2 separate regions of the Homo sapiens genome follow, and region 2 is linked to region 1. The links are contacts of gene promoters, found by promoter capture Hi-C in blood cells and fetal thymus (Javierre and others, 2016). All regions are on one chromosome and are shown on one strand. The core of a region is centred on a gene start or on the middle of the fragment in contact, and the rest is flanking DNA. Distances in the headings are between cores, read along the strand shown.

Region 1 (7,667 bases), core at 2,526-5,025:
GTGGTGGTGGCAGTGCAGGTGATAGGAATGGTCAAATTAACTTTTTAAAAAAGATGGTCCAATCTGCAGTGATTTTGAAGGTAGAGCCCATAATACTTGCTGTTGAAGGAATAGATTTAGAATGAGTGAAATGGGGAATTAGAATTTTTAGCCTCAGCAACTGGTGGATGGTGGTACCATTGACTGAGATGGAGAAGAATGAGAAACTGTAGCCAATGAGGCAGGATGAAAATCAGAAAGAGCGGTGTCCCAGAAGCCAAGGGGAAACGACATTTTGATAGGGAAGGAGTTATCTGTTGCCTGTGTCAAATGTGGCTGAAGATCCAGTTTGGCAAGACTGACATCCCTGGTGACCTGGAGAAGAATTGTTTCATGGAGTAGGAGGGATAATGTGTCTCTGAAGCGGGTTCAGAAGAAGATGGCAGATAAGGAGTAGAGACAGCCTACATGGAGTCCCTTCAAAGATTTTCTTTTTGAAGCAAAGCTGCATTGTTATTGTTTGAAGTTTTATTTTTAACTTTTCATTTCTCCCAGTGCTGGGATTACAGGTGTGAGCCACCGCGCCTGGCCTGTTTCATGTTTTCATTTCTCTTCTTCCACGTTGGAAACCCTAGTTCCCAAAATATCAATGAATTTACTCATTTGCTCAATCCTATAATGCACACAAAATAGTTTCAGAATTGCTACACCTCTACCATACAAATAATAGCCTACTACACAGAGTTCAAGATTATTTTTTCAGTTCTTTAATCTTTAATCCTGTGCTCAAAACTTACTTGGTTTTTTTTTTTTTCTTCTGGGAGTTTATATTATTCACATAAATACACGGTTTGTTGTTGCTGTTTGTATTGTTTTGGAGTCCCACTCTCCACATCTTGTTAATTTTATTTTTGAACATAAAAAAGACTAACAGTTTCCAAAACTCAAAACTATGCAAAAAAGTACATTCAGAACAAGGCCATTCCTTCTGTTGTTCCCATTTACTCAGTTCCTACCCGGTGCCTGTAGGTAACTAATTAGTTTCTGGTTCTCACTCCTGTATTTATTTTTTGTTCTGTCAAAAAACTACGCTTCCTCAAGGTGAGGTAGAGAAATGAGGCAGGGCCAGACGCCGTGGCTCACGCCTGTAATCCTAACACTTTGGGAGGCTGAGGTGGGTGGACTGCTTGAGCCCAAGAGTTCAAGACCAGCCTGGGCAACACAGCGAGATCCCGCTTCTATTTATAAAAATAAATAAATAAAAAGAAATGAGGCAGTCACTGAAGCAGAACACTGGATCAAGAAACCATTTTATTTTAAAATGGCAGACTGTACAATAATGTAAATGATTCTGTAGTAACTGACAAATTGAAGGTGCAGGAGAGAGTATGATAAATTGCAGAGGGAAATATCCATCAAAATATCCTCTAGTTTAATTTGAGGGATATCAAAGGGTTCTCATATCCCAAAATTGACCGCAATCCTGTTTGTAACCTTCCAAATTAGTTATAACTCTATCTCTAGAGAACCCACATTAAAATGGAGTTACTGTTTTATCAAGATAATTAAGCCATCACTACCTATTAATATCAATAGGATACACTGTGCCCTGGCAAAAGGGAGGTTTTGAACTTGGAACAAGACATTTAACTAGGAGTAGAGTGGTGAGAAGAGAATGGCTGATGTGAGAAGCTGTATAAAAACATGGGACAGACAATAATGATCATGCTGGAAAAACAAACATGCTTCTGGCATGTCTTGGATATTTTACACACATGCTAATGAGTAATTGAGGGTCACTCCTCATGCCCTCGAACTAAGTTAATATGGCTCAGGGGAAAGAACATGGACTTTGGAAACAGAGGGGTCTTGCTTCGAATCCCAGTTGAGTTACCTAACACCTACATGACCACTGCCAAGTTACTTAAAACCTCACAGACAATTTCCTTACCTGTGGAAGTAGATAATGGTGTTACTGTGAGATATAAGTAGAATAACTTACAGCACTGCCCCAGCCCAGAAGAGATATTTTAATAAATAAGTCCATAACAGACGCAGATTAAAATAGTCAGCAAGGTAAAGAAACTGATGATACAGCCAGCTGACTTCAATAACATGCCTAAGAGAAATCACACCATCTCAGGCAGTATTTGGTAAGGCCAGAAGAATGTCCAACACTTAGTTCCAATTCTTAATTTTCAAATTGCCCCAGAGTCTATTTTTAAAGTGTAAAAGTATGTGCTGACATACTTACATGCCAATTGTTTAAAAGAAACAATTCTACAGGTTAACAAAGGCCAAAGACTCGGAATAACTTCCTAAATAATGTTTATGGGCCCACAAAGAGTTGAACCAACCTAAAATATCACAAGCTGTATCAATCAGTTTTATAAATGTATATACAGAGGGTTGACAACGTTCAATAAGATGATATTTTAAAAGTTTCTATTTCAGTTTCAAATTCATCTACAAACCAAAATGCAACATGGAAAATCTTAAAATGTCTTTAAGCCACATACTGAAATATACAGTAAATTTTCAGAGCCTAGGATCAGTAGTAAACCAAAAGCCCCAAACTGAAGAGTATTAAAATGAACAATGGCAGAGACTCGAAGCACACAATTTTGAATGCACCTAATCAGCCGTCCTCCTCTCCGACTAGAAATAACTTCCCTCCCATCTTAAATTAAGTAGCGTGTGTTCTGTCTCTGTCCTAGAAGATGTACTTAATGGTCATAAACTCTGTTTGCAACACTGAGACGGACTCATAATAAAAGTTCTAATCAACAATTAAATTTTGAACGTTTTAAGAAAACTTCCCGCTAAGCCACACGCCAAGCTACTTTGTCGGTGGCTGAGAGGGAGAAAGATGCATCCTTATCCTTTATGGAAAGAGAAAGGGAAGGAGTGGGAGAAAAGGGAACACAAGGAGACGAAAAATAACAAAGTATTGCTTGTATAAACAAATGAAAGCCTGGTTTCAAACTTTTGAAAATTCAACGTTCCCTTAGCGAATAGCAATACATATCAAAGTATATGGCAATCATCTGTGTTCTGAAGCAGAAAAAGGTGGAGAGAAAAGCAAAACACTTTTTATTGTACTGAACTCACAAGTATTCAAAATTCATCAATCCCCTCCCATCCCCAAACTCTGGACATTATATCATTTCCAAAATAAATCTGAAACAAAACCATTGGACTAATTTTGGACTCAGCGTAGAACTTTTATGAGTCTTCCAAGCACTCTCCACCCAACAGCCCTGCTGGGCAGTCCCGAATACCCGTTATTTTGGGGGCACGCACGGGCTCGTGCTCTGAGTTCCTGGAAGGAGGCCTCGGGGAGTGACGAGAAACCAGGGGGGTCTGCAGGACTTGGACCGCCGACCGTTCCTCGCTCCCCGGGGCGAGCGGTCTGGACCGCCCGGGAAGTGCCTGCGCCGGCGGTCGTGGGGCCAGTTCCCGCGTGGCAGCTGGGCGCGACACAGGCGCGCCCTCCTCGTCCCTCCCGGGCAGCGTCGGCCGCCCGAGCCCGGGGAGACCCGCCCCGCCCCGCGCCGTCACCCGGGCCCCGTTCCGCAGGGGTGGCTCGCGGCGCCCCACGTCCCTGCGAGAAGCCCGGGATCGCTTCGCGGGGCGCACCGACGAGCCGCCGCTCGCGAGCTCGCCGCCTACCTGGAGGGAGCTCAGGCCCGCGTCGACCGCGCGCTGCCGGTGTCCGCTGGGCGCTCAGCAGCCCCTGGAGCGCGGAGCCGGCGTGGAGAGCGCAGCTCACAGCCGAGACCAGAGCCGCCGGCCACACCCAGTCCCGCACCTCCCAGCAGCCAACTCCGCGGCGCGCCGGAGCCGGGGCGGGGACGTGGCTGGAGGCGCGAGGCGCGAGGCACGAGGCGCGCGGGCCCGGCGGGGACGTGCCGGGGACGCGCAGACCCTCGGAGCGCGCGCAGCCCGGGCGGGGGGCGAAGGGAGCGGGCGCCGCGCGCAGCTTCTGCTTCCTATTTTCTCTCTCGTTTCCTGCCAGAAGGAGAAGAAAAACATTCATTCCCGGGCAGTTTCGTTTTCTTGTTGGTGTGGCGCCGGGGCACGCTGCTAAGTAGCGCCCGTCTAAGTGGCGTGGCCAGTTTCCTTTCCGGCGCTGACAGGCGCCAGTTTGCTTGTTAGCAGGATCGAAGGGCAGAGCTAGAAGACCCCAAAGGCCCCATTTAGGTTTCCCATTCTGGAATTCTAAATGTCAGAAAGTAAACTGAAGCCCAGAGTTGCACAACCTTGCGTTGCAGTCCCCGCTCTTCCATCACTAGTTGTAGGACCGTGTACCGTCTCGGGCCTAAGTTTCGTCATCGCCAAAATAAAGATACTGATACCTGCCTCATAAAGGTGCTAAGCATATTAAATGAAGTGATGTTTGCACGAAGCCTGCCTCCAAATAAATGGCCAATACTTGGAAGTTATTGTTCCTATTGTCATTGATAAAACTGGAAGGCCTTCCAGATATCCCTGCCAAGTCGCTCTTCTCTGCATGAGTTAAACACCACATGCATCTCAATCGAGTTTTTTTTTTTTTCACATTTATCTGGGTGTTTTATGTTTAAAATGTCATAAAATAAATGCATCTATCCAATTTGCTTCCTCTGAAGTCAGTACCGCCTGGGAGCATTTTTCCTCTCCCCACCCCCATTTTTCTTCTGAGTTAATTCCAGTTTGACAGACTGTTGCTATAGCATTCCTTCTCTGACGTCAAACAATTTAAAGAAACAGCCCTGGGTAGCGAAAACTGCAGAGGAGTTCTTTGTGGAGTTTCTGTGCCGGAGAAATGTTCGAACAATATCATCAGATAACTTTAACAACCCCTCAGCCTTCCAATCCTCCTTCTGTAGCTGCTTCCCACTATCACCTGGAATAAATCTATTAGTCCCTTGAAAGAGGTGATGCCATGATAAACACACCCTGTTTGTGACTGTGGGGAAAATGTGACCGTTTTGTATAAAAGCCAGGCCGTGACAAAAATAGAAGCAGCTGTTTCTATTTTCTTTATCCACAGATAAAGAAACTGTGGATAATTTTTCCCCCAAAATTTTCATTTTTACTAATATTAGGAGCATTTTTCCATTAAGAAGAAAGAAATGCCAAATATTCTGCATATCAAAGTGTCAGAAGAGCTCGTTGGGACATGAGTGTTTTGCATCTGTAACTATTTATGTTTTAATGATTAAATCCTGAGTTTTATGATTGTCGTTTTTCGGAGGAAGCAAAGGGAAATTGTTAAAGAGTGCCTATTACGGACCATGCTCTCTGCTTTCTTATACTGTACTTAATCCTCATAATTACCTTGAAGTGTGAATTTTATCCCCATTTTACAGATAAGCAAACTGATGCCCTGGTAAGATTAATTTATCGGAGTCACGAAGGTATTGGTAGAGCCCTGCATGACATCAGATTGGATCAACTCCAAAGCCCACATTCTTTCTTTTTTTTGTTTGTTTTTTTGTTTTGAGACGGAGTCACTGTGCAGTGATGTGATGTCAGCTCACTGCAACCTCCACCTCCAGGATTCAAGCGATTCTCGTGTCTCAGCCTCCCAAGTCTGGGATTACAGGCACAAGCCACCACGCCCGGCTGATTTTTTGTATTTTTAGTAGACACGGGGTTTCACCGTGTTGACCAGGCTGGTCTCAATCTGCTGACCTCAGGTGATCCGCCCACCTCGGCCTCCCAAAGTGCTGGAATTACAGGCGTGAGCCACCGATCCCGGCCCCATATTCTTTCTTTAGATTCTTTTCTGCCTTGTTCCTGTGCACTAGCATTTACCAGATGTTATAAAGCTTTGAGAGCTGGTTGTTGGGTTAAGATTATTTGTTGAAAAACAAGTTGCTGGTATTTAGGAAAACACAGTGGGAAGCAATGAGATAGTCTATTCCAGAAAAGATGAGGGGAAATATAAATGAACAGCTCCTAAACATAAAATACAAAACCTGAAAAGATGTAACAAGAATTTGACTGTCTTTTAAAGAGTTTAAAAGAATGATATCGTCAATCTTCCTGAAAATTTAATGTAGACAAAGAAATTACTAGAAGAATAAAGTCCAAGTACAGAAAAAGGAAAGTTTAATTATTATCCAAACGAATCTACTTCCAAGAATATTGTATTTCTGTTTTGCCATACCTGCTCCATATTGTTCTGGAAAAAAAAAAAAAAACTTACTTGTTAAAGGACAAGCCTATACTGAAAATCTGAAAGTGGAGCTGATTAAAAGAATTTTGTCATCAGGAATGATTTCATAAGAGCACACTAATGCATCTAAGTGATCCAGCAATTCATGATTTTTCCAATGATAATGAAATCCACGAAGAACAAAAGAGAGAGACTGGGAAGGGAGGCAGAGAGAAAGGTGAAGGGGTATGCTATTAACATTTCTGATGCCTGCTGGTTTGTGTAGACAATTGTAGAGATGTATCCTACTTCTGAGGATTAAGCCCCATGATCTTTTGTTTGGGTGCCACTGGCTGATAATTAGATTTCTAACTCATTAGGCCCATGTTCTCAAATCCTACTCTATTAAGAGAGCATAGTGGGGTCCCTACTAGAGAACCTTTGAAGACAAAATCCTTGTCCGTTTCATCTTTGTGTCTGCCATAGTGTTTAACAGAGCACCTTGCATTTGCTAGGTACTCCACGAACAAATAAATGAGTGAATGCACTTGGCTGCTTGTTTTATGCAAATAACCTGCATACCTCACCCCATCCCACACGCTAGTCAGAATCATAGGAGAGGAGAAAGTGGTCATTGCTTTTCTAGGAGTTTAGTTACAGTTTCTTTTGCAGGGTGTTTTGCTTCACTATGATCAAGTTCAGAGAAGCTCTGCTCTTGGTCCTACATTGGATGAATCTGAATGCTGTACTCAGTGAGCTACCCTGTAATCCATAGTGCCATAGGTTTGTATATCCTGCTTTTAAGTTTTACCCTAGAAATGGTCTATATTTTTTTCTGAGCCTACCTTGCTCTCAGACGATGCCAAGCACACCGTGAAGAACACAGCTATTAAAGTGTACAATATTTCAGTACCGCCCTGTATGTGTTGTATGCATTCCAATTCTATTGTGTTTGAAATGAGGCCAAATTATATACATACAACATCACAACTACCGTAACAGATTTTATTTCACCCACAACAAAATAAGTTATAAAATATTAAATGGAAATTATCTAACAGGATCTACAGCACAGTTTCCCAAGGACATGAGAAGCAATTCCCTAGTAGATTCTGTAAGAAGTCAGTCTATGTGTGGTTTCAGACAGACATCCTTGATACAGAGTAGTCATGCCTAAAGCCTTCCCTCTTGCTCACACACAATGCATTTTCCATATCAAAGTACAGTTTGTACTTTGAGTCACCTTTGCTGTACTCCTCTGACACTGGTGGTACAAATCAGTTATAGCTTTTGTTTATTTCCACTCAGGTTCTCGTTAACCATGGGAATTTGGAATCTGTCATCCAAGTGCATCCCAGTGACCTTAAGAGAGGGTCAATGATATCTGTCACAGGCATGGGAGAGGGAACTAGAAGCATGCAGGCATATATCTGCTGCTCTATGTCCTGTCATTCAGGTCCCTGGAATCAGGGAATTCAGGGAAATCAGGGAATTCAGGTCCCCGGAAAGGGACATGTCAAAGTGAAAAAACACTAAACTGCAC
Region 2 (7,667 bases), core at 3,857-6,356, 310 kb before region 1:
GCATCATTTTGATATCAAAACTCGGCAGAGACACAACAAAAAAAAAAGAAAATTTCAGACCAATATCCCTGACAACCATAAATGTAAAAATCCACAATAAAATACTAGCAAACCAAACCTAGCAGCACATCAAAAAGCTAATCCACCACAATCAAGTAGGCTTTATTTCTGCGATACAGAGTGTGGTTCAACATATGCAAATCAATAAAAGTGATTCATCTCATAAACAGAAACAAAAACTACATGAACATCTCAACAGATGCAGAAAAGGCTTTTGATAAAATTCAAATCCCTTCATATTAAAAACCCTCAACAAACTAGACACCAAAGATACATATCCTAAAATAATAGGAGATATCTATGACAAACCCACAGCCAATATCATACTGAATGGGCAAAAGCTGGAACTATTCTCCTTGAGAACTGGAATAAGACAAAAATGCCCATTCCCACACTCCTATTCAACATATCACTAGAAGTCGTAGCCAGAGCAATCAGACAAGAGAAAGAAATAAAAGGCATCCAAACAGGAAGAGAGGAAGTCAAACTCTCTCTCTTCATGGATGATGTGACTCTATACCCAAAAAACCCCATAGTCTCTGCCCAAAGGCTTCTAGATCTGATGAACAATGTCAGCAAAGTTTTAGGATACAAAATCAATGTACAAACATCAGTACCATTTCTATACACCAATAACATCCAAGCTGAGAGACAAATCAAGAGTGAAATCCTATTCACAACAGCAACAAAAAGGAATTGGAATACAGATAACCAGGGAGGTGAAAGAGCTCTACAGTGAGAATTACAAAACACTGTTGAAAAAAATCAGAGGTGACACAAACAAATGAAAAAAATTCTACGCTCATGAATAGGAAGAATCAGTATTTTAAAAATGGTCATACTGCCCACAACTATTTACAGATTCAATGCTAATCCTGTCAAACTACCAATGACATTTTTTAGAGAATTAGAAAAAAACATTCTAAAATTCATTTGGAACCAAAAAAGAGCCCAAATACCCAAAGCAATCCTAAGCAAAAAGCACAAAGCCAGAAGCATCACACTATCTGACTTCAAACTATACTATAAAGATAGAGTAACCAGGCACAGCGAGGGGGCTCACGCTGGTAATCCCAGCACTTTGGGAAGCCAAGGTGGGTGGATCACAAGGTCAGGAGTTCAAGCCCAGCCTGGCCAACATAGTAAAACCCCGTCTCTACTAAAAATACAAAAAAAAAAAAAAAAAAATTAGGCAGGCGTGGTGGCAGACACCTGTAATCCCAGCTACTTGGGAGGCTGAGGCAGGAGAATGGCGTGAACCTGGGAGGCAGAAGTTGCAGTAAGCTGAGATCTTGACATTGCACTCCAGCCTAGGCAACACAGCGAGACTCCATCTCAAAAAAAAAAAAAAAAAAAAGTTACCAAAACAGCATGGTACTGATACAAAAACAGACACATAGACCAATGGAACAGAATACAGAGCCCAGAAATAAAGCCATATATCTATAACCACCTTATCTTCAACAAAGTTGCAAAAACAAGCAATGGGGAAAGGACTCCCTATTTAATAAATGCTGCTGGGATAACTGGCTAGTCACATGCAGAAGATTAAAATTAAACCTGTAACTTTCACCATATACAAAAATCAACTCAAGATGCATTAAAGACTTAAATAGAGAACCTAAAACTATAAAGACCCTAGAAAAAAATCTAGGAAATACCATTCTGGACATTGGCCCAGGCAAAGATTTCATGACAAAGATGCCAAAAGCAATTGCAACAAAAACGAAAATTGAAAAATGAGACCGAATTAAATGAAAGAGCTTCTGCACAGCAAGAGAAACTACCAATAAAGCAAACAGACAATGTATACAGAATGGCAGAAAATATTTGCAAACTACACATCCAACAAAGTTCTAATATTCAGAATCTATAAGGAGCATAAACAAATCAACAAGCACAATACAAACAACCCCATTAAAAATGGGCAAAGGACATGAATAGACACTTCTCAAAAGAAGATAAACACACGGTCAACAAGCCTATGAAAAAATGCTCCATATCACTAATCATTAGGGAAATGCAAATTTAAAGCACAGTGAAATATCATCTCACACCAGTCAGAATGGCTATTATTAAAAAGTCAAAAAAATAACATATGCTGGCAAGGTTGTGGAGGAAAGGGAATACTTATACACTGGTAGTGGGAATGTAAATTAGTTCAGTCACTGTGGAAAGCAGTCTGGAGATTTCTGAAAGAACTTAAAATAGAACTACCATTTGACCCAGCAATTTCATTACTGGGTATACATCCAAAGAAATATAAATCATTTACCATAAAGACACAGGTATGCGTATGTTTATCACAGCACTATTCACAATAGCAAAGACACAGAATCAACCTAGAAGCCCATCAACAGTGGACTGGATAAAGAAAATGTGGTATGCATACACCATGGAATACTACACAGTTATTAAAAAATGAGATCATGGCCTTTGCAACAACATGGATGGAGCTGGAAGCTGTCATCTTAAACGAGTTAATGCAGGAACAGAAAATCAAATACTGCATGTTTTTACTTATAAGTGGTAGCTAAACATTGAGTATACACGGACACAAAAAAGGGAACAATAGACACTGAAGCCTATGGGAGGGTGGAGGGTGGGAGGAAGGTGAGGACTGAAAACTACTTCTCGAGTATTATGAGATTACCTGGGTGACAAAATTATCTGTACACCAAACCCCCATGACACACAATTTACCCATGTAACAAACCTGCACATGTACCCCTTGAACCCAAAATAAGAGTCGGAAAGAAAAATGAAAAAGAAAATTCTAACTATAGCTCAGACTAACCCCTGAGTAGCAAGCACATCCACAGCGTAGGACCAAAGCAGCATAGGAAAGACATTAAAATCAAAACCGAGATTAGAATCACTTTCCACAGAAAGCAAGAGTACACTTAGTCACATGGATTTCCTACTAAAACAAACAAAAAATTAATATTATCCAGAGGATAACAGAACACATAATCAAATCAACATAATATTCAAATTTTCCAATATACAATCCAAAATGACTCGACATATTAAAAAAAAAAACAGGAAAATGTGTCCAATTCTCAAGGGAAAGGACGATCAGCAAATGCCAATCCTGAGTTGATCCAAATGTTGGAATTATCAGAGAAAGACTTTAACGTAGGTACTAACTATGGTCCCTGAGGTAAAGACCTAACTTGAAATGAACAGAAAGGTATAGGTACTCAGGAGAGGAACAGAAACCATTGAAAAAAGAGCCAATCAGAAAATGAAGAGTTAAAAAATACAATATCTAAGATTTTAAAAATATCTGGGGGAGCTCAATAGCAGAACAGACATGACAGAGACAAAAGTAAGTGAACTACAAGATATAGCAACAGAAAATATCCAGCATAGATAGATATGAGGAACAAGAGAGAGGAAAAAAGATTGGAAAAAAAAATGAACAGAGCCTTAGAGACATGTAGGACAATTTCAAAACAGCTAACATTCTTGTCACTGGATTCCCAGAAGAGAATAAAATAACTGGGGCAGAAAAATATTTGGAAAAAGTAATTTCTGAAAACTTCCCAAAATTAGTGAAATACATAATTTTACAAATTCAGGAACTAGACACACACAAACAGAAGAAATAAAACAATACCTCAGCATATCAGAATCAAACCATTTAAAACCTAAATTTTTAAACTTTTTTTTTTTCTTTTTGAGACGGAGTCTCGCTCTGTCACCCAGGCTGGAGTGCAGTGGCGCAATCCCGGCTCACTGCCAGCTCCGCCTCCCGGGTTCACGCCATTCTCCTGCCTCAACCTCCCGAGTAGCTGGGACTACAGGCGCCCGCCACCACACCCGGCTAATTTTTTGTATTGTTTAGTAGAGACGGGGTTTCACCATGTTAGCCAGGATGGTCTCGATCTCCTGACCTCGTGATCCACCCACCTCGGCCTCCCAACTAAATTTTTAAATCTTGATATAATCCAGAGAAAAAAGAAAAATTACGTATTGGGGGAAACTATTTGAATGACCACAGATGAGACCTGAAAATAGTCTTTTTTATGTTTTTTAAATTAATTTATTTATTTACTTATTGGAGACATGGTTTTGCTCTGTCGCCTAGGCTAGAGTGCAATGACATGCTCACAGCACACTGCAGCCTCAAACTCCTGGGCTCAGCGGATCCTCCCACCTCAGCAACAGCCACCCGAGTAGCTGGGGCTACAGATGCATGCCACTAGGACCGGCTAATTTTTTTGTATTATTTTGTAGAGACGGCGTTTCGCCCTGTTGCCCAGGTTGGTCTCAAACTGCTGGGCTCAAGTGATCCACCCACCTCAGCCTCCCAAAGTGCTGGGATTACAGGCGTGAGCCAACACACCTGGCTGAAAATAGTCTTTTACGAATTTCAAAGCTTTGATTTCTCCATAAGTGCACTCCTGGTAACTTGAGAACATTACACATTTGTCTCCTTTCTGTGGCCAGAATTGTTTTGTATTTCAAGTATGGAAAGGAGCTTTGCCAGAATCCTCCCGTGCTAAGTGTAAGTAGAGCAGTTAGACTTTAACATGGTTGTGTGATAGTAATGACATTCATATCTGACTCTAGGCAAGGCATGGCTGGAATGAAAAACATTGACTGTTAAGTGTTTTAAGGTGAACTTCTCAGATACTAGATCTCTTAGCTCACATAGTGGAATTTTGAGGAAAGTACAGGGTTTGCTCTTCATCTCCTAAGAAATGCAATGATGATTCTTTAAAGTACTGATGGGTCAGGGAGGGGAGAAAACCATTAACCGAGAATTGTATAATCAGCTAAAATATTTTGCAGAAATGAAGGCAAAAGTAAAATATTCTCAAATGAAGGAAAATGAAGGGAATTTGTCACAAGCAGACTTTCTCTAAAAAGAATGTTAAAATTCTTCAGGATAAAGGGAAATTATACCAGAAGGAAAAATGGATTTTCAGGAATGAAGCAAAACATAAATGTAAATGGATACGTAAATATAAAAGATTATTTTTCCTCTTGAGTTCTATATGACTGTTGAAAGCAAAAATTATAAAAACATCTGATGGGGCTTCCATATATATAAATGTAATACATATGCCAACTAATGACATAAAGGTCAGGGAGTGGGGTAGGAGACAGTGGTAAATCTACACGGTTGCAAGGCTTCTTTCTACATTTTACTTGAAGTGGTGTAATAGTAATACTAAGTAGACCGCAAAACTTTAGGTATGTATATTATAATCCATAGAATTACCAAAAAATTACCAAGAAATATATTAAAACTACAATATAGAAATTAAAATGGAATATTAAAAATTTTTCAAATAATCCACAAGAAAGCAGGAAAGTAGAAACATAAAAACAAAAGTATAGAGGAAAAACAGAAAACAAATAATAAAATGGCAAGCCTAAATCCATATAATTACATTAAATGTAAATTAAACACAGCAATTAAAACACAGAAATTGTCAGATTGGAATTTTTAAAAAGAGATCTAATACGTGTTGTCTACGAGTAACTCACTTTAAATATAAAAATAGATATAAAAAAGATGGGAAAAAATACCATGGAAAAATTAATCAAAAAAAGCTGGACTGGCTGTATTAATATCAGACAAAGTAGATTTCAGAACAAAGATATTACTAGGAATAAAGAGAGATAGTACAGATTGATTAAAAAGAGTCAATGTATCAAAACACAAGAGTTCTAAATGTGTATACATCTAACAACAAAGCTTCAAAACACACAAAGTAAAAATACACAGAAGTGAAATGAGAAATAAAGAAATCCACAATTATATTTTGAAACATCAATGCTAACAAAATCATCAACTTGGTAAGAAACTACATTCTGCCCAACAATAGCAAACAAAATATTCTTTCATAAGTGCACATGGGACATTCACCAAGATATTCTGGGGCAACACAAATCTTAACTTGAAAAGAACTGAAATCTTAAAAGTACGTGTGTGTATGTGTGTGTGGGTGTATGGTTTTTTTTTTTTTAAGATGGAGTCTCGGTCAGGCGTGGTGGCTCACACCTGTAATCTCAGCACTTTGGGAGGCCAAGGCGGGCGGATCATGAGGTCAGGAGTTCAAGACCAGCCTGACCAATATGGTGAAACCCCGTCTCTACTAAAAATACAAAAATTAGCCGGGCGTGGTGGCACGTGCCTGTAGTCCCAGCTACTCGGAAGGCTGAGGCAGGAGAATCACTTGAACCTGGGAGGCAGAGGTTGCAGTGAGCCAAGATCGCGCCACTGCACTCCAGCCTGGGTGACAGAGCGAGACTCCATCTCAAAAAAAAAAAAAAAAAAAAAAAAACAGTGCTACATGGTAACTCATATCGTTATCTCTTGGTGTGTTTTTATTGTTTGACTTGGCAATTTTATACATCTAAAGTATACTGCTACATAATCAACTTGACTCTTATTTACAAAGGACTTCAAAGCTTAGTAGTGACTTAAGCGCTATTAGAGAATGTTTCGGTGCATATTTGAGTATCAGTTATGATTTTCAATGGAAATAAACCCAAAAGGCAAGTAACTGTCATTATAATTCTGATTATTAGAATAGAACAATAGCTACATACTGGACATTTCACCTCCCGTCTTTAGAACCCTTAGGATGCAATTATTTAATTTTGAAGTATACCATTTTTTGTTTCATTTACAGCCTGAGAATCATTATTTTTTTAAAACCTTCTTTCAGCTCCTAATCCTTGAGTGATGAGTTTGGTCATATAGATGCTTATATCATACAGATATTTTTATATCATATAGATATTTTAAACACTGAATAACATTGCAAAAACCTTTGAAAGCAAGATGACACCTAAGACCAATGGCTTACATATAAGGCAAACATTATCAACCGTGAATTGAATAGTAAATGCTACTCCTGTACCAATGAATGGTGTCATGCATTCAAGTACCAGGTATGGCTTTTTCTGCTATGACACACAACTTCTTAGGGGCAGATAATCACATAACAAAAAACATATTATGTAATTAGCATTTTCTTATTAAAAAATAAATTTTAGGCTGGGCATGTCGGCTGAAGTCTGTAATCCCAACACTTTGGGAGGCCGAGGTAGATGAATCTCTTGAGCCCAGGAGTTGGAGACCAGTCTGGGCAACGAAGCAAGACCCTGTCTTTACAAAAAATAAAACATTTTTAAAAATCACAAATAGGCCAGGTGCGGTGGCTTACGCCTGTAATCCTAGCACTCTGGGAAGTCGAGGGGGGTGGATCACCTGAAGTCAGAAGTTTGAGACCAGCCTGACCAACATGGTGAAACCCCGTCTCTACTAAGAAATACAAAAATTAGCTGGCATGTTGGCTGGTGCCTGTAATCCCAGCTACTCGGGAGGCTGAGGCAGAAGAATCGCTTGAACCCGGGAGGCAGAGGCTGCAGTGAGCCGAGACTGCACCGCTGAACTCCAGCCTGGGCTACAGAGTGAGACTCTGGCTCAAAAAAATAATAATAATAAATAAATAATAAATTTTATAAGGAAAAATATCCCTAGTATATTTTTCCCCACCAAGGTCTACCTATTAATATCTCATATAACTCTGTGCTTGAAACACAATTTGGGATATATTGCCTTAAAATTTACTTTGACTAGC

Evidence for each region. Contacts are between HindIII fragments. The CHiCAGO score rates a contact against its expected background, and 5 or more counts as called.
Region 2: a contact is called between a fragment that was not itself captured here and the fragment with the promoter of GNB4 in region 1, in 2 of 17 cell types (naive B cells and neutrophils). The highest score is 6.3, in naive B cells.

Annotation. Positions count from the first base shown.
Region 1 is chr3:179,447,695-179,455,361 of GRCh38, forward strand. It overlaps GNB4 (G protein subunit beta 4), which reads right to left and starts at 3,776. Exons shown (of 10, transcript NM_021629.4): 1 at 3,652-3,776. It also overlaps the pseudogene RPL29P34. RefSeq lists silencers at 3,347-3,756, 3,797-3,946. The HindIII fragment of the contact is 16,902 bases long and covers 1-5,793 here.
Region 2 is chr3:179,139,213-179,146,879 of GRCh38, forward strand. All of the region lies in intron 1 of PIK3CA-DT (PIK3CA divergent transcript), which reads right to left. Among named protein-coding and RNA genes, the nearest start is that of PIK3CA-DT, 4.9 kb to the right of the region's middle. The HindIII fragment of the contact is 1,329 bases long and covers 4,443-5,771 here.